Linked DNA regions of Homo sapiens: all the other regions are linked to region 1. The links are contacts of gene promoters, found by promoter capture Hi-C in human tissues and cell types (Jung and others, 2019). All regions are on one chromosome and are shown on one strand. The core of a region is centred on a gene start or on the middle of the fragment in contact, and the rest is flanking DNA. Distances in the headings are between cores, read along the strand shown.

Region 1 (2,746 bases), core at 97-2,596:
ATCCACCTCCACACACAGCAATGCTATTATTCACACACTAACAAATACACACACATAAATGCACATGGAACAGATAAAAAATGCACACTGATTCACTCTATTTTGCAGACACAACACACATAATATACAAACTCAACCTAATAGACACACCTACATACATATGCAGACCAACCTGCACTCACACTCAGACACATGCGAATAAACTCTCACTCACACAGGGATGATCACAAACTCTGACAGGCTGCTTTACATCCAACCACCAAGGACCCTAGAGCTCTACAGGCCCCTCTACACCCAACATGTCCCTTACATTCCACATGTATACACACACACACACACACACATACCCTGCCTACCACCTCGGCAGCCCTTAGTAGAGGGGTGTCGCCACGGCGCCCCCCACTCACTTGCACATGCACCCCCCTGCACGTGGACACACACGAGGCTGGCACCATATTCCATCTGGCTCCGTAGAACCCTATCCTGGGACAGACGCTTTGGGGTAAAGTTTCATAAAGTGGTGTCCCTGAACCCCAATTCCCAATTCCATGGAAGGTGGTTACCTCTAACCCTCTCTTGCTCCAGGGCCACTCTTATTCATATTTTCTCCATCTTTCCCCCTCCCCACCTCCTTCACACACACATAGCCTTGGTGGGCCAAGACACTCTCCCTCTCCGGGTCCTGAACCAGCCTATTGCAGCCCCGAGAGCTCCTCCCAACTACTTGGCAGACCTCCCCCTCCCCACATACACCCTCAGCCCTTGAAGAACCGGTTCAGGTTCATTATCAGCCCCTCCTCCAACCAGCAGCCCCTTCCATGGGACCCCAGCCTCATCACCTACTAGGTTGACGTTAGACACCCTCATTCTGCTCAGAGGTAACCTGCCCCCACCCCAGGCTGCAGTCTGGCAACGCGGGGAGGAGGGGTGCCCAGGAACAGGATCGATCCTTCCACGTGGCTCAGCTCCATGCCAACCCCAGCTCCTTGGAGGGACTCCCAGGACCCTGTCTGTGGCACCTCTCACAGCCGCTCACCACCCCAGCCCCTCACTATACTCACGGCTCAGCCGGTCGCGCTGCCGGGTACTGCTGGCTCCTGCAGAGGATGGAGTGGCCGCATGCCTGCCCCATCACTCCTCATCGTCCGCCTCCCCAGCCAGACTAAGGTGGCACCTCGCCCTGTCCCCGCTGCCTGGAGTTCAGGGCAGGGCACCCCCAGCAGGCACAGGGACCAAGAGCAGTGGGCTGCCCCCTACTCAGCCTGGACTCAACACCCCAATCCAGCTCTGCTGCCCCGCTGCTCCCGCCTCTCCCGCTGCCACTGCCTCTGCTGCTCGGCTGGCTCTGGGAGGAGGTTGGAGCAGGTCTGATAATGCAGAAGGGGGAGGGAGGAGGGAGGAGGAACAGAGAGAGGCCCAGACAGAGAGGGAGAGAGGGAGAGAGGGAGGGGTAGAGAGAGAGTCTGACTGGGAGAGAGGAAAAAAGACTCACAGACAGAGAGACTGAGAGATAAACAGAGACAGGAAGGGGGACAGTAACACATGAAGAGGGAGAGGAGAGAGGGATCAGAGCCTTAGCGAGATCAAGATGGAAGTACAAAGAGACCAGAGAGGCATAGAGAAACACACACACAGAGGAACAAAGGCAGAAAAGGAAAAAAAATCAGAGGCAGAAATAGAAAGAGAGTGGGGTAGGGGGAAAGGGGAGTGGCTGACAGAGGAGAGAGGGGAGAGGACGAGGGATTTACAATCCTCATGGGCTAGGATGGGGCTGGGGACTTGAGGGGCAGCAGACCCAGACCCTCTGCTGCCCCATCGCAGAAGCCTTCAGGATGAGGGGACACGCTTGTGCCCTCAAGTCTGAGAGATCAGGCCTCCATGCACAGCTAGCTGCCCTCTCCTCTGGGCTCCCTCACCCGGTGTGTATCATCTCCTAGCGTGCATCCCAGCCTGGAGCTGGGTCCACGGAAGACTTAGGGGGCTTTACTGATGGCCTTTGGACTCAGAGCCTTGTCACAGGGCCCACCTCTTGGTGGCTTGGTTTAGCTGGGACTTGGAGCTGATGCGTGAGCATGGACTTCTACCAGGATCTGTGGAGACCTAGGCCACAGCCTGCCCCACATGGCCTTCGCTGCTCACAGACTACAGGCATGGGGGAAGGCCTGTTGCACCCCCACCCTGCTTCCAAAGAGGACTCCCTAGGATAAAGCTATAACCTAGTGAAATAGAGGCATTTTAGGCCCTAGGACAGATAGAGAGTTGTCACAGCAGAGCTACTATTGTATGCAGGAGAAACAGCTCCACACCTTGAGGCAGGAAATGGGGATTTGGATCCTGGCTTCACCATTAACTTACTTATTCATTGGCCTACCAGTGGCTGAGCTCATGGCTCACACTATCCCTTGTCTCAGAGAAGCACTCGGGCTGGGGAGTGGGGAGGGGAGACTTGCAGGCTGTGACAGAAAGAAGCACAGGGTCTGTGAAGCCCAGAGGGACCCCTGACCTAGTTTGGGTGGTGGGGGGGCGGTTAGCAAGCATTTCTGGAAGAGAGGGTCCAAGCTGGGTCTTTTAAGGCAGAAGAGGGTATATTCCAGGGTAGAGGAGCTACAGCAAACCCTCCACAGCAACCCCATCTCTCTGAGCTGTGGGGAGAATACCTCCCCGCCACACAACAGGCTTCAAGCAGAGAAGTCCCTGAGGCTGAATAGAAACCTGACCCATGTTGAAGAACATGGGGGTGCACGGT
Region 2 (2,746 bases), core at 162-2,661, 250 kb before region 1:
GCAGACACAGAACAGGAAGTACAAGGCAAGCAGCTTAAGTGAATATTAGAAGCCCAGTAACACACTGGCTTGATTGTTTTCAATATTCTTAGATTCATCTCTGTTCCTCAGTTTCCAGGAAAATTCCTTGGGAGAAAAATTCCAGTTGGTTCTGGCGGTGCTGACATGAATTGCGTTATGATTTTGATTAAGCTGGGATTTTAGAGGAGAGATAGCACTTGGGCGACATAAATGATGGTAGGGAGGCAGAGCCTGACAACTGCCCCTGCTGTTAGGCCCTGAGCGATTACAGCTTTGTGGCCTACACTGCCTCAAGAGGCAGGACCATGCCCAAGATGATGCCTGGCACATACAAGCAGGAAGGCACTCACATTAGTTCCTCATGTTCCTCAGCCATCAGAATGGCTACTGATCATATTGATCCCCTCTCAACCCATCTCAGCTGCCACTGCCATAAAAATAAAGACAAAGCTTCTTCATGTGGCCTCTGATGCCCTGTAGGGTCTGCTTGTTCTAGGCTCCTGGCACCTTCCTCTAGCTGGAGTACCATTGGCCTTTTTCAGTCCTTCACACTGGCCTTGCTTCCTCCTCATGCAGGATTCTTGTAAATAAAAGTTCCTTGTGCTAGAGAGCTCTTCCCAACCTTTTCCACCTAGATAAACTCTTCCTTATCCTTCAATTCCAAGCTCAAGCTTCCTCTGACCAGGGGAAATCTGGCTGTCACAGGCTCTCCTGATTCTCTGTGTCCTTCCTTTGCAGCATTTGTACTAGTTGTCATTTCGCATTTGTAGGATTCACGTCTGACAAGGCTTTGAGCTCCATGAGGCAAATCCTGTACATGTCTGACTACTGATCTACCAAGCACAGTGCCACACATAGTAGGCACTATTTGTTTAATGAATAAACGATTGAACTACTTCATTTTTGTTTGTCCTCTGTCTACAGGTTTATTATGACTGTAATAGCTACACAGTTTGCTTAATTTTTATCATTTACAAAACACTTTTAGCCAGGCGTGGTGGCTCACACCTGTAATCCCAGCACTTTGGGAGACCAAGGCAGGACTGCTTGAGCCCAGGAGTTCAAGACCAGCCTGTGCAACATGATGAGATCTTGTCTCAATTAAATAAACAAACAAACAAAAACACAAAACGCTTTCAATGGCTGGGCATGGTGGCTCACGCCTGTAATCCCAGTACTTTAGGAGGCCGAGGTGGGCGGATCAAGAGGTCAGGAGTTCAAGACCAGCCAACATGGTGAAACTCCGTCTCTACTAAAAATACAAAAATTAGCTGGGCGCAGTAGCTGTCGCCTGTAATCCCAGCTACTCGGGAGGCTGAGGCAGGAGAATGGCTTGAACCCAGGAGGCAGAGGTTGCAGTGAGCCGAGATTGTGCCACTGCACTCCAGCCTGGGCAACAGAGCAAGACTCCATCTCAGGGGAAAAAAAAAAAAACTTTCAATAATATTCAGTGAGTATTTGGTAACTATTTACATGCACAGTGATGAACAACACAGCAATGGTCTGCTGCCCTCCAAAACTCACAGTGTTGTGAGGGAGAGAAGGAAACAGATAACCCATCCCAACAGAAGGTGGTAAGTGCTCTCACTTATATAGTACAGGGTGCTATGGGAATCCACAGATACTGGTGTTGTAGGAGTTATTAAGAAACTATTTCAGGCAGATAAGAGAGGGAGAGGTCCTTGGGAAATTTTCGTTTTTTAAAGCATCTCCAGAAGTTTCTGGTAAAGCCCCGTTCTTAGAGCCAGTCGGCAACCTTTGATATACAAATGAAGGCCATTAAAAAAACTGGGTCTACCCAGCAGAACGCAGTGGCTCACGCCTGTAATCCCAGCACTTTGGGAGGCCAAGGCGGGCGGATCACCAGAGGTCGGGAGTTCGGGACCAGCCTGGCCAACATGGAGAAACCCCATATGTACTAAAAATACAAAATTAGCCGGGTGTGGTGGCGCATGCCTGTAATCCCAGCTACTCAGGACATGGTGCCCTGCATTTGCATATTAAAATGCTAGGGTGGGAGGACCAGCTTTTTTGCAGGGTACATGAATGACATACCTAGTCAAACCAATCCCTTGAGTCCTATGCAAATCAGATACCACCTCCTCCAGCCTCTGTATATACCTGGCTGGTATCCATGGCAGGTGGGGTTCCCTCTCTTGGCTTTGGAGCCCCCTCCCTCTGTCTCTGTACAGGGGAGCTTCTTCCTTCTCCCTTCCTTCTTGCCCCTCCTTCCCTACTAAACTCTCTGCTCCTTAAAACCAATCCACGTGTTTCCGTGTCATCTTATCTAATTCGACATGAGACAGGAGCACTGGTGTCCCTCCACTCATCAGAGCCGTATCACTGGGGGATCAGGGAAGGCTTTCAGGAAGATGTGACAGTGATGACCGAAGGATGAGGAATTTTCCAGACAAGGACTCACCTGCCTGGAATGCTCACAAGATCCTGGGAGAGTGATGAGACAAGTATCATCAAAGATACTTTACAGTGGAGGCCCCCGAGGAAACTGAGAGACTAGCCCAAGGCCACACAGGGCTGGCTGTGCTCCTTTTCAGTGACATGACCCCTCCCTCCAGGCCCACTGCGTTAGGCCCTGGCTGTTCTCTGCTCATGGCCAACTGCCTGCCTCTGCAGGGCTTCTGGGCAGTTGACCACCTGCTCCCACAACTCACCTACCCATGAAGTTATAGAGAAGCTGCTAATCCAACCTTTCCCAATTGCCTTC
Region 3 (2,746 bases), core at 106-2,605, 200 kb after region 1:
TCAGATACATGATTTGCAAATATTTTCCCCCATTCTGTGGGCTGTCTTTCATTTTCTTGATAGTGTCATTTGAAACATGAAAGTTTTAAATTTTGATGATGTCTAATTTATCTAGTTTTTCTTTTGCTGCTTAGGCTTTGGTGTTATATCTAAGAAACTAATCCAAGGCCACAAAGACTTACCCCTGTGGTTTTTTTTGTAAGTTTATTAGCTTTCGCTGTTACATTTAGGTATTCATTTTGAGTTAGTTTGTATATATGATGTAAAGTGGGGTTGTTAAGATAATTAACTGGAAGGTCATTAAACTGAGGCAGCTCCAGCATCCCGGGTTCCTACGTAAGCAAACCAAAACTCAACTCAGTATAAATGGTAAAACAAAACTGAAGCTTAACCAATCAAAAACTGCCAACTACCTTCTAACTAGAAACCTTCCACTGGAATGATCCAAAAAAGGATACTACCGTGCCACTTTAACCAATCAAATATTTGCTTTGTTTTGCTTCTGAGTTCACCCTATAAAAGCATTCCTCTGGTGTTCCATTGGTGGAACCCTGAACTGCATATGATCTGGTGCTGCCCAAGTAATTATCACTATTTTCTCAAATAAAAAAAAATTTAATGTGCCTAAGTTTATCTTTTAACAGGGTCAAACTTCATTCTTTTGCATATGGATATCCACTTGCCCTAGCACCATTGTAGTATGCTTTTGCTTTTTTAAGAGACAGGGTCTCACTGTTGCCCAAGCTGGAATGCGGTGGTATGACAATAGCTCACTGCAGCCTCGAACTGCTGGGCTCAAGTGATCCTCCTACTGTAGCCTTCCCAGTAGCTAGGACTACAGGTGCATGCCACCATGCCTGGCTAATTTTTTAAAATTTTTTGTAGAGACAGCTGTCTCACTATGTTGCCTAGGCTGGTCTTGAACTTCTGGCTTCAAGTGATCCTCCTGCCTCAGCCTCCCAAAATGCTGGGATTACAGGTGCGAGCCACTGTGCCTGACCTCTAGTATTCATTTTAAAACAATGAAATGTTTTTATTTTTGTTTTTTAAAAGAGTGAACCAACAAGCTCTTTCTTAGAAATCACATATGCAAGTCATTTAATTGCTGAAGCAGAAAAGAGAGAAGTATTCACTACATTCTATTTTCTCAAAGCAGTTATTCAAGTAATCCAGTTTTTATAAGATTTTGTCAGTATTTTATCAAACAACAGATAAACATGGTATTTGCCAACTCAGATTTAGACTGCAGTCCCAGAATTAAACACTGCTATCTTCCCTTTAGGATTTCAGTTGCTTATAAGTTAAAAATTGTCTAAAAGCAGAACTTTCTAGTGTTTTCAAATGAATTTTCATGATTTGCCAACTTATTAAAAATTTTCAGAGTATAGCTCTCTGTAAACTTGATGGCATTCCAGATACTACTTGACCAAATCATTTTTGGAAGCTTTAAAGAGACAGAGCTTTTAAAAATAGTATTTTAAAAATCCAGATCTTTTAGGATACATAATCTTGGTTTATAAACACAGTCAATTACCTAGATTTTAACACAACATTTAACATAAACACATATAAGTGTAAAGCTATAGTTGAATTTCAAGTCTGTAAATCTAATTTGGACTAATTCATTTGCCTTTAACATATCTCTTCTCTAAGGACAAGGACTGTGTGTAATGTATTACTATTTAGGACAGTGGTTTACTTGTAGAATAGAATCAATAATGGTAGATAATAGTATTTGCTACTCCATCTTTGGTACCTTAAAAAAAAGCTCCAAACAGCTTTTATCATAGGTACTAGGAACTATATCATCATATATTTCATTTAATTCACAAAACAATTCTAGGGGTCAATATTATAAACTCTATCTATCTATCTAGCTAGCTATTATTTATTTGACAGAGTCTCGCTCTGCTGCCCAGGCTAGAGTGCAGTGGTGCAATAATAGCTCACTGTAACCTTGGATTTCTCCTGAGCAGTTGGGACCAGAAGCATATGCCACCACATCTAATGTTAAAGTTTTTTGTAGAGATGGGGTCTTGCTATGCTGCCTGGTTGGTATCAAACTCCTGGCCTCAAACGATCCTTCCGCCCTCCTGCCCTGGCCTCCCAAAATGCTGGAATTAGAGGTGTCAGCCACCATCCCTAGCCCCAAAACTCCATTTTATAGATGAGAAAAATGATTTAATCAAGGTCACACCAACTGTGGTAAACCATTATATTAAAGGTTCCCAAATAATCATGCTTCCTGGTATCCATGTAGTCCACTCCCACCATGATTCTGGGCTTGTCCATGTGATTTGCTTTGGCTAGTGGGGCATTTGCCAATTTAATGGAAACAGAGGACCCTCAGTAAGTGCTATTTGGATCTGACTTCTTGAAATATGCTGCCACCATGCTGGGGAAGTCCAGTTTAACCTATATGCTGATGAAAGACCACATGGGGAAAAGACCCAGCCATCACAGCTGAGCCCAGCCCTCTGGCCAGTCCTCTAGCTGAAAGTAATTGCTTGAGTAACCTCAGGCAAAACCAGCAAAAGAAATGACTAGTTGGCTTGGCACAGTGGCTGACACCTGTGATCCCCACATTTTGGAAGGCTGATGTGGGAGGATTGCTGAGCCCAGGAATTCGAGGTTTGAGGCAGCCTGGGCAAAATAGCAAGACCCTATCTCTATAAAAAAGGAAAATAAAATATTAGCTGGGTTTGGTGGTACATGCCTGTAGTCCCAGCTATTCGGGAGGCTGAGG
Region 4 (2,746 bases), core at 81-2,580, 170 kb before region 1:
TTTGTTCAGGGTTTTTAACATAAAGGAATGTTGAATTTTATCAAAAGCCTTTTCTGCATCTATTAAGATGATCATGTGTGTTTTGTTTTTGTTTCTGTTTATGTCATGAATTACATATAATGATTTGCATATGTTGAACCAACCTTGCATCCCAGAGATAAAGCCTGCTTGATTGTGGTGGATTAGCTTTTTTTTTTTTTTTCATTTATTTTTTTATTGATAATTCTTGGGTGTTTCTCACAGAGGGGGATTTGGCAGGGTCATGGGACAATAGTGGAGGGAAGGTCAGCAGATAAACAAGTGAACAAAGGTCTCTGGTTTTCCTAGGCAGAGGACCCTGCGGCCTTCCGCAGTGTTTGTGTCCCTGATTACTTGAGATTAGGGAGTGGTGATGACTCTTAATGAGCATGCTGCCTTCAAGCATCTGTTTAACAAAGCACATCTTGCACCGCCCTTAATCCATTTAACCCTGAGTGGACACAGCACATGTTTCAGAGAGCACAGGGTTGGGGGTAAGGTCACAGATCAACAAGATCCCAAGGCAGAAGAATTTTTCTTAGTGCAGAACAAAATGAAAAGTCTCCCATGTCTACTTCTTTCTACACAGACACGGCAACCATCCGATTTCTCAATTTTTTCCCCACCCTTCCCGCCTTTCTATTCCACAAAGCCGCCATTGTCATCCTGGCCCATTCTCAATGAGCTGTTGGGCACACCTCCCAGACGGGGTGGTGGCCGGGCAGAGGGGCTCCTCACTTCCCAGTAGGGGCGGCCCGGCAGAGGCGCCCCTCACCTCCCGGACGGGGCGGCTGGCCGGGCGGGGGGCTGACCCCCCACCTCCCTCCGGGACGGGGCGGCTGGCCGGGCAGGGGGGCTGACCCCCCCACCTCCCTCCCGGACGGGGCGGCTGGCCGGGCGGGGGGCTGACCCCCCCACCTCCCTCCCGGATGGGGCGGCTGGCCGGGCAGAGGGGCTCCTCACTTCCCAGTAGGGGCGGCCGGGCAGAGGTGCCCCTCACCTCCCGGACGGGGCAGCTGGCCGGGCGGGGGGCTGACCCCCCACCTCCCTCCCGGACGGGGCAGCTGGCCGGGCAGAGGGTCTCCTCACTTCCCAGTAGGGGCGGCCGGGCAGAGGCGCCCCTCACCTCCCAGACGGGGCGGCTGGCTGGGCGGGGGGGCTGACCCCCCACCTCCCTCCCTGACGGGGCGGCTGGCCTGGCGGGGGGCTGACCCCCCACCTCCCTCCCGGACGGGGCGGCTGGCCGGGCGGGGGGCTGACCCCCCACCTCCCTCCCGGACTGGGCGGCTGGCCGGGCGGGGGGCTGACCCCCGCCACCTCCCTCCCGGACGGGGTGGCTGCCGGGCGGAGACGCTCCTCACTTCCCAGATGGGGTGGCTGCCGGGCAGAGAGGCTCCTCACTTCTCAGATGGGGCAGCTGCCGGGCGGAGGGGCTCCTCACTTCTCAGACGGGGTGGCTGCCAGGCGGAGGGTCTCCTCACTTCTCAGATGGGGCGGCCGGGCAGAGACGCTCCTCACCTCCCAGACGGGGTCGCGGCTGGGCAGAGGCGCTCCTCACATCCCAGATGGGGCGGTGGGGCAGAGGCGCTCCCCACATCTCAGACGATGGGCGGCGGGCAGAGACGCTCCTCACTTCCTAGATGTGATGGTGACCGGGAAGAGGCGCTCCTCACTTCCTAGATGGGATGGCGGCCGGGCTGAGACGCTCCTCACTTTCCAGACTAGGCAGCCAGGCAGAGGGGCTCCTCACATCCCAGACGATGGGCGGCCAGGCAGAGACACTCCTCACTTCCCAGACGGGGTGGTGGCCGGGCAGAGGCTGCAATCTCGGCACTTTGGGAGGCCAAGGCAGGCGGCTGGGAGGTGGAGGTTGTAGCGAGCCGAGATCACGCCACTGCACTCCAGCCTGGGCACCATTGAGCACTGAGTGAACGACATTCCGTCTGCAATCCCGGCACCTCGGGAGGCCGAGGCTGGCGGATCACTCGCGGTTAGGGGCTGGAGACCCGCCCGGCCAACACAGCGAAACCCCATCTCCACCAAAACCAGTCAGGCATGGCGGCGCGTGCCTGCAATCGCAGGCACTGGGCAGGCTGAGGCAGGAGAATCAGGCAGGGAGGTTGCAGTGAGCCGAGATGGCAGCAGTACAGTCCAGCTTCGGCTCCGCATGAGAGGGAGACCGTGGAAAGAGAGGGAGACCGTGGAAAGAGAGGGAGACCATGGAAAGAGAGGGAGACTGTGGGGAGGGGGAGGGGGAGAGGGAGAGGGAGAGGGAGAGGGAGAGCAGAGATGAGGTCTTGAGTGGTGGATTAGCTTTTTGATGTGTTGCTGGATTCAGGTTGCTAGTACTTTGTTGAGGATTTTTACATCTATGTTCATCAAGGATATTGGCCTGAAGTTTTCTTTTTTTGTGTGTCTTTGCCAGGTTTTGGTATCAGAATGATGTTGGCCTCAAAGAAAGAGTTAAGGCGGAGTCCTTCCTTCTCAGTTTTTTGGAATAGCTTCAGTAGGAATGGTACCAGCTCTTCTTCATACATTTGGTAGAATTTGGCTGTGAATTTCTTTGGTCCTGGGCTTTTTCTTGTTGGTAAGCTTTTTATTACTGATTCACTTTTGGAACTCATTACTGGTCTCCAAGGATTCAATTTATTCCTTGTTCAATCTTGGCAGGTTGCATGTTTCTAGGAATTTAACCATTTCTTCTAGGTTTTCTAGTTTGTGTGCACAG
Region 5 (2,746 bases), core at 73-2,572, 150 kb after region 1:
ACCTCCATTGTCTGGAGCCACTTGGGGTCAGTTCCATCTCACCCCCCCAACCCCTACCCTCAACCCTTTCCCTCCTTCTTGGGATCAGAGCTCTGGGGGTGGGGAGTCAGGCTTCTGAATAGCTGTCACCAGGAGAGAACCTGTGGGCAAAGCCCAGAGCCCAGTCATGCCAGGCATGTGTGCGCAGCCATAGGTGTGCAAGCATGTGCATCCGCAGGGACATGAGGCCACAGGTGTGTACAAGCTTGACTGAGCCCGTCTGTATGTGTGAATATATAAGCATGTGTAGATGTGTGCTCACACTTGTGGGACCTGATTGGGGCTTCAGACCTTGGGTGCCTGTCCGCAGGGTCTCCTCCATCCTTCTTGATTTGCCTGTCATTGAGGCTGCCCGCTCTGGGCGCCATTCCCCAGCCTAACACCTCTTCTCAGTCTTTCCTTGCAGGTCCCTGGTGTCCAGGCCTTGGGGCAGTGAAGAAACCGTGGGGAGGGGCATGAGATGCCAGTCCCCAAAGTCCTTGGGAGCCCTTGTGGGCCAAGTCATTGTAGGACACACCCTCTCCTGGGCATTGCTGAGGTCACCCAGTGAGCCTAGGCTCCCCCCTCCTCCCATCCCCAGCCTGGGGGAACCTTCAGCGTCTCTCCTCCCTGTAGGCCCCGGCTCAGCTTCCCAGGAACTTTTGTTGGTGGGTACTAGTAGGGTAAGGCAGTTCTTCCCATCATGAGGGAGACCTTGGGAGACTTTCATTACCAAATCCATTGCTGCCCCGACCTTCCTGGGACTGATCTGGGTCACCCTGGTCTCCTGATCTTGGAGAAGTCAAGTTCTTATCCCAGACTTGAGAGGTTACAAGCCTCCAGGTCTCTGGCAAAGTGTGGAGATGATGGACAGCCATTTGTACACACACCAGCCAGTCCCTTAGCATATCTCTCTTGGTTTTGTCTCAGGTCTGCCTCAGCCACCTCCCTGACGCTGTCCCACTGTGTGGATGTGGTGAAGGGGCTTCTGGAGTAAGTGTGTGTGTGCCTGTGTGTGCACCCACGTGTGTGTCGGGCTCCCCAGCCCAGGCTTGGTCTGTGTCTGTGCCTCGACCTGTCCATCCCTGTGATGTGCAGCTGTCTGCCTGTGAGTCTGTTGGGCCTTGGAGACAGGAGCCAGGTGAATGGCCTCAGCCCCGGCCCCGGTTCAGCTGTCTTCCAGGTTCTGTCCTCACAAGGGTCTGTCTTCATCCAAGGTCGTCACAGGGGACCAAGAGCTCCAGCCTCAGGCAGGGCAGGAGCTCCTACTCAATTGGGAAAAATGCTCTGAAATGTCAGGGACTCATTCAGAGTCACAGAGCCAAGCAGTGGCAAGACTGGGATTGAAACCCCGGCCCTGAGGTTTCTTTGCACCCACCAACCCTACCCTGCTCCTGTGTCTGCCTCTGTGTGCTCCCCACCCCGTCTCCACACCAACCCCTGGGGTCGAGGCTGGGTTGGGGAATGCTCTCGCTGCTCCTTGGGGCCATGTTCTGCCGCCTGCCATGTCTGCTTCCTATGGTTGATGCCTCAGGGGAGCTGGAGGCTCCCACCTGAGAAGGACTTGCTGAATGCCCTCCTGACCCCAACCCACCTTACCCCAGTTTTAAGAAGAGGAGAGGTCACTCAATTGGGGGAGCCCCTGAGCAGCGATACCAGATCATCCCTGTGTGTGTGGCTGCCCGACTTCCTACCCGGGCTCAGGATGTGCTGGTAAGGGAGGAGCTGAGCCACATGGGTGGGGCAGTGGTGAGAGAGTGCAGGCACAGGGGTGGTCTCGGCACCAGGGGTGGTCCCAAGAGGCCAGGGAAGCAAGGCTGGGCTCCTCAGCAGGAGCAGGAGGCTGCCTCCCACAGCCTGTGGTGGGAGCCACTCAAGCATGTTATGATGTGGGCATAAGCCGGGGAGGGAGAGAGAGGAGGCTGGGAGGCCAGGAGGCCAGGCAGGAGAGTAGAGTAGCATAGCACGGAGGCTGCTGCAGGGGTCCAGGCAGAGGTGAGAACACCTGGTGGGGCCGGGTTTGAAACTCAGAGTGTGGACAGAGAAACTGGGGAGGGAGATACCACGTCTGCAGCAGGCTGTGTCTGCACAGGCACCGGTAAGAGGGCCCGTGAGCACTCACAGAGACATGCGCGGGGAGGGCCGGGGCACCAACCTCCCCTTTCCCCACAGGATGCCCACCTCTCTGAGGTCAATGCTGTTCGTTTTGGCCCCAACAGCAGCCTCCTGGCCACTGGAGGGGCTGACCGCCTGATCCACCTCTGGAATGTTGTGGGAAGTAAGGAGCCCTCCCCTGCCGGCCAACTTGGTGCTTCTCTCCAGACCCTCTCCTCAGCTCACTCCTTGGTGGGCAGAGGTCTTGGATCTCTTTGTGTTTCTCTATCTGGAATATTCTGTGGGCAGTGACTAGACAATGCCTTGGAAAGAGTGAGACTCTGGGCTCACTGTTCTGAAGAAGGGTGGAGCCTCCTGGCTCCTAGGGTCCAGATTTGCAGGATGGGGAGGGCTGAGTTCAGATGGTCCCTGATGGGGATTGGTGGGGGTCCCCTATCATGAGGTCCTACAGGGACAGGCCCTTGAAGAGCAGGTCCCTGAGTCTACCAGGTGACCCTCTTCTAGCATCACTTGAGCTCTCAGAACTCAGGTAAGAGACAAGTATGAACTGTTGGCCTTGTCCCAAGCTCTGTGCTCTGGAGAGGGGGTGTCCTGGGGAGTCAGAGCCGGCTCC
Region 6 (2,746 bases), core at 171-2,670, 140 kb before region 1:
CTCACTCTGTCGCCCAGGCTGGAGTGCAGTGGTGCAATCTCCACTCACTGCAAGCTCCACCTCCCAGGTTCATGCCATTCTCCTGCCTCAGCCTCCCAAGTAGCTGGGACTACAGGCACCTGCCACCACGCTGGCTAATTTTTTTGTATTTTTTTTTAGTAGAGACGGGGTTTCACCGTGTTAGCCAGGATGGTCTCGATCTCCTGACCTTGTGATCCACCCGCCTCAGCCTCCCAAAGTGCTGGGATTACAGGCATGAGCCACCGTGCCGGGCCATTTCTGGGTTCTTTATTCTGCTTCATTGGTCTATGTGTCTGTTTTTGTATCAGTACCATGGTGTTTTGGTTACTGTAGCCTTATAGTATAGTGTGAAGTTGGGTAATGTGATGCCTCTGGCTTTGTTCTTTTTGCTTAGAATTGCATTGGCTATTTAGACTCTTTTTTTGTTCCATATGAATTCTGGAATAGTTTTTTTCTAGTTTTGTGAAAAATTACATTGGTATCTCGATAGGAATACCATTGAATCTGTAGGTTGCTTTGGGCAATATGGCCATTTTAACAATATTGATTCTCCCAATCCATGAACATGGAATGTTTTTCCATTGTCTGTGTCATCTATAATTTATTTCAGCAGTGTTTTGTAGTTCTTCTTGTATAGGTCTTTCACCTCCTTGGTTAGATGTATTCCTAAGTATTTTATTCTTTTTGTGACTATTGTAAATGGGATTGTATTCTTGATTTGACTCTCAGCTTGAACAGTTTTGGTGTATAGGAATGCTACTAATTTTTCTATGTTGATTTTGTATTCCAAAACTTTACTGAAGTGGTTTATCAGTTTCAGGAGCTTTTTGGTAAAGTCTTTAGAGTTTTCTAGTTATAAAATCATGTCGTCTGCAAACAGAAATAGTTTGACTTCTTTGCCTATTGGGATGCCTTTTTTTTTTTTTTTTTTTTGAGATGGAGTCTTGCTCTGTTGCCCAGGCTGGAGTGCAGTGGCGTGATCTCGGCTCACTGCAAGCTCCACCTCCCGGGTTCAAGTGATTCTCCTGCCTCAGCCTCCTGAGTAGCTGGGAGTACAGGTGCCCGCCACCACGCCCAGCTAATTTTTTGTATTTTTAGTGGAGACCAGGTTTCACCATGTTAGCCAGGATGGTCTTGATCTCCTGACCTTGTGATCTGCCTGCCTCAGCCTCCCAAAGTGCTGGGATTACAGGCGTGAGCCACCGCACCTGGCCGTGGGATGCCTTTTATTTCTTTCTCTTGCCTGATTGCTCTGGCTAGGACTTCCAGTACTATGTTGAAAGGAGTGGTGAAAGTTAAGTATGCTTGTCTTGTTCCAGCTCTCAAGGGGAATGCTCCAAGTTTTTGTCCATTCAGTATGATATAGGTTGTGGGTTTGTCATAGATGGCCCATATTATTTTGTGGTACGTTCCTTTGATGCCTAGTTTCTTGAGAGTTTTCATCATGATGGGATGTTAAATTTTATCAAAAGCTTTTCTGTGTCTATTGGGATGATCATATGGATTCTGCTTTTAATTTTGTTTGTCTGGTGAATCACGCTTATTGGTTCATGTATGTTGAACCAGCCTTTCGTCCCAGGAATGAAGCCTACTTGATCATAGCGAATTAGCTGGTTTCAGTTTGCTAGTACTTTGTTGAAGATTTTTGTGTCCATGTTCATCAGGGATATTGGCCTGAAGTATTCTTTTTTCATTGTATCTTTGCCAGGTTTTGGAATCAGGGTGATGCTGGCTTCATAGGGCAGGAGGAGGAGTTAGGGAGGAGTACCTCTTCCTCAATTTTTTGGAACGGTTTCCATAGGATTAGTACCAGTTCTTCTTTTTATGTCTGGTACAATCCAGCTGTGACTTCATCTGGTCCAGGGCTTTTTGGGATTAGCAGGTTTTTAAAAGTACTGATTCAATTCTGGAACCCTATAGTGGTCTGTTCAGAATTTCAATTTCTTCCTGATTAAATCTTGGGAGATTTTGTGTTTCCAGGAATTTTTCAACTTCCTCTAGATTTTCTAGTTTGTGTGCCTACAGGTGTTTATAATAGTCTGAGAATAATTTGTATTTCTGTGGGATTGGTTGTAATGTCACTTTTGTCATTTCTGATTGTGCTTATTTGGATCTTCTCTGTTTTTTTCCTTGTTATCTAGCTAGCAGTCTATGGATCTTGTTTATCCTTTCAAAGAATCAATTTTTGGTTTCATTGATTCTTTGTATGGATTTTGGGTCTCCATTTCATTCAGTGATACTCTGATTTTAGTTATTTCTCTTCTTCTGCTAGCTTTGGGGTTAGTTTTTCTAGTTCCTCCAGGTGTGAGGTTGGACTGTTAATTTGAGATCTGTCTAACTTTTTGAGGTAGGCATTTAGCATAATAAACTTTCCTCTTAATACCACTTCTGCTGAATCCCAGAGATTTTGGTATGTTGTGTCTCTGTTTTCATTTAGTTCAAAGAATTTTTTGATTTCTACCTTAATTTCATTGTTTAGCCAACAGTTTTTCAGGAACAAGTTGTTTAATTTGTATGTAATTGTGTGGTTTTGACAGATCTTCTTTGTATTGATGTCTGTTTCTGTTCCACTCTGATCTGAGACTACGGTTGGTGGTATTTCTTTTTTTTCTAATTGGGACTTACCTTATGGTCAAGCATGTGGTTGATCTTGGAGTATGTTCCGTGTACAGATGAGAAGAATATATATTCTATGGTTGATGGGTAAATGATCGTCTATGATCAG

Evidence for each region. Contacts are between HindIII fragments. The study calls those that stand out against the background at their distance.
Region 2: a contact is called between a fragment that was not itself captured here and the fragment with the promoter of PDE2A in region 1, in 3 of the 25 tissues and cell types used here (dorsolateral prefrontal cortex, lymphoblastoid cells and spleen).
Region 3: a contact is called between a fragment that was not itself captured here and the fragment with the promoter of PDE2A in region 1, in 2 of the 25 tissues and cell types used here (mesenchymal stem cells and thymus).
Region 4: a fragment that was not itself captured here is called in contact with the fragment with the promoter of PDE2A in region 1 in 1 of the 25 tissues and cell types used here (bladder).
Region 5: a contact is called between a fragment that was not itself captured here and the fragment with the promoter of PDE2A in region 1, in 1 of the 25 tissues and cell types used here (spleen).
Region 6: a fragment that was not itself captured here is called in contact with the fragment with the promoter of PDE2A in region 1 in 2 of the 25 tissues and cell types used here (IMR-90 fibroblasts and spleen).

What each region holds. Positions count from the first base shown.
Region 1 is chr11:72,673,076-72,675,821 of GRCh38, forward strand. It overlaps PDE2A (phosphodiesterase 2A), which reads right to left and starts at 1,347. Exons shown (of 31, transcript NM_002599.5): 1 at 1,062-1,347. The coding sequence starts at 1,132. RefSeq lists enhancers at 1-542, 543-1,168, 1,169-1,795, 1,796-2,420, 2,571-2,746. The HindIII fragment of the contact is 13,863 bases long and covers 1-2,746 here.
Region 2 is chr11:72,419,057-72,421,802 of GRCh38, forward strand. The region is part of intron 2 of CLPB (ClpB family mitochondrial disaggregase); the gene reads right to left. Among named protein-coding and RNA genes, the nearest start is that of CLPB, 14 kb to the right of the region's middle. RefSeq lists enhancers at 1-348, 349-1,035, 1,718-2,746. The HindIII fragment of the contact is 5,670 bases long and covers 1-2,746 here.
Region 3 is chr11:72,873,489-72,876,234 of GRCh38, forward strand. All of the region lies in intron 12 of FCHSD2 (FCH and double SH3 domains 2), which reads right to left. Among named protein-coding and RNA genes, the nearest start is that of ATG16L2, 60 kb to the left of the region's middle. The HindIII fragment of the contact is 4,492 bases long and covers 1-2,746 here.
Region 4 is chr11:72,501,318-72,504,063 of GRCh38, forward strand. No RefSeq gene overlaps it. Among named protein-coding and RNA genes, the nearest start is that of LINC01537, 68 kb to the right of the region's middle. The HindIII fragment of the contact is 3,554 bases long and covers 1-2,746 here.
Region 5 is chr11:72,823,112-72,825,857 of GRCh38, forward strand. It overlaps ATG16L2 (autophagy related 16 like 2), which reads left to right. Exons shown (of 18, transcript NM_033388.2): 8 at 949-1,011; 9 at 1,623-1,731; 10 at 2,191-2,296. Among named protein-coding and RNA genes, the nearest start is that of ATG16L2, 10 kb to the left of the region's middle. RefSeq lists enhancers at 1-96, 147-266. The HindIII fragment of the contact is 3,926 bases long and covers 1-2,746 here.
Region 6 is chr11:72,530,939-72,533,684 of GRCh38, forward strand. The region is part of intron 1 of LOC105369376 (a long non-coding RNA gene); the gene reads right to left. Among named protein-coding and RNA genes, the nearest start is that of LINC01537, 38 kb to the right of the region's middle. The HindIII fragment of the contact is 4,496 bases long and covers 1-2,746 here.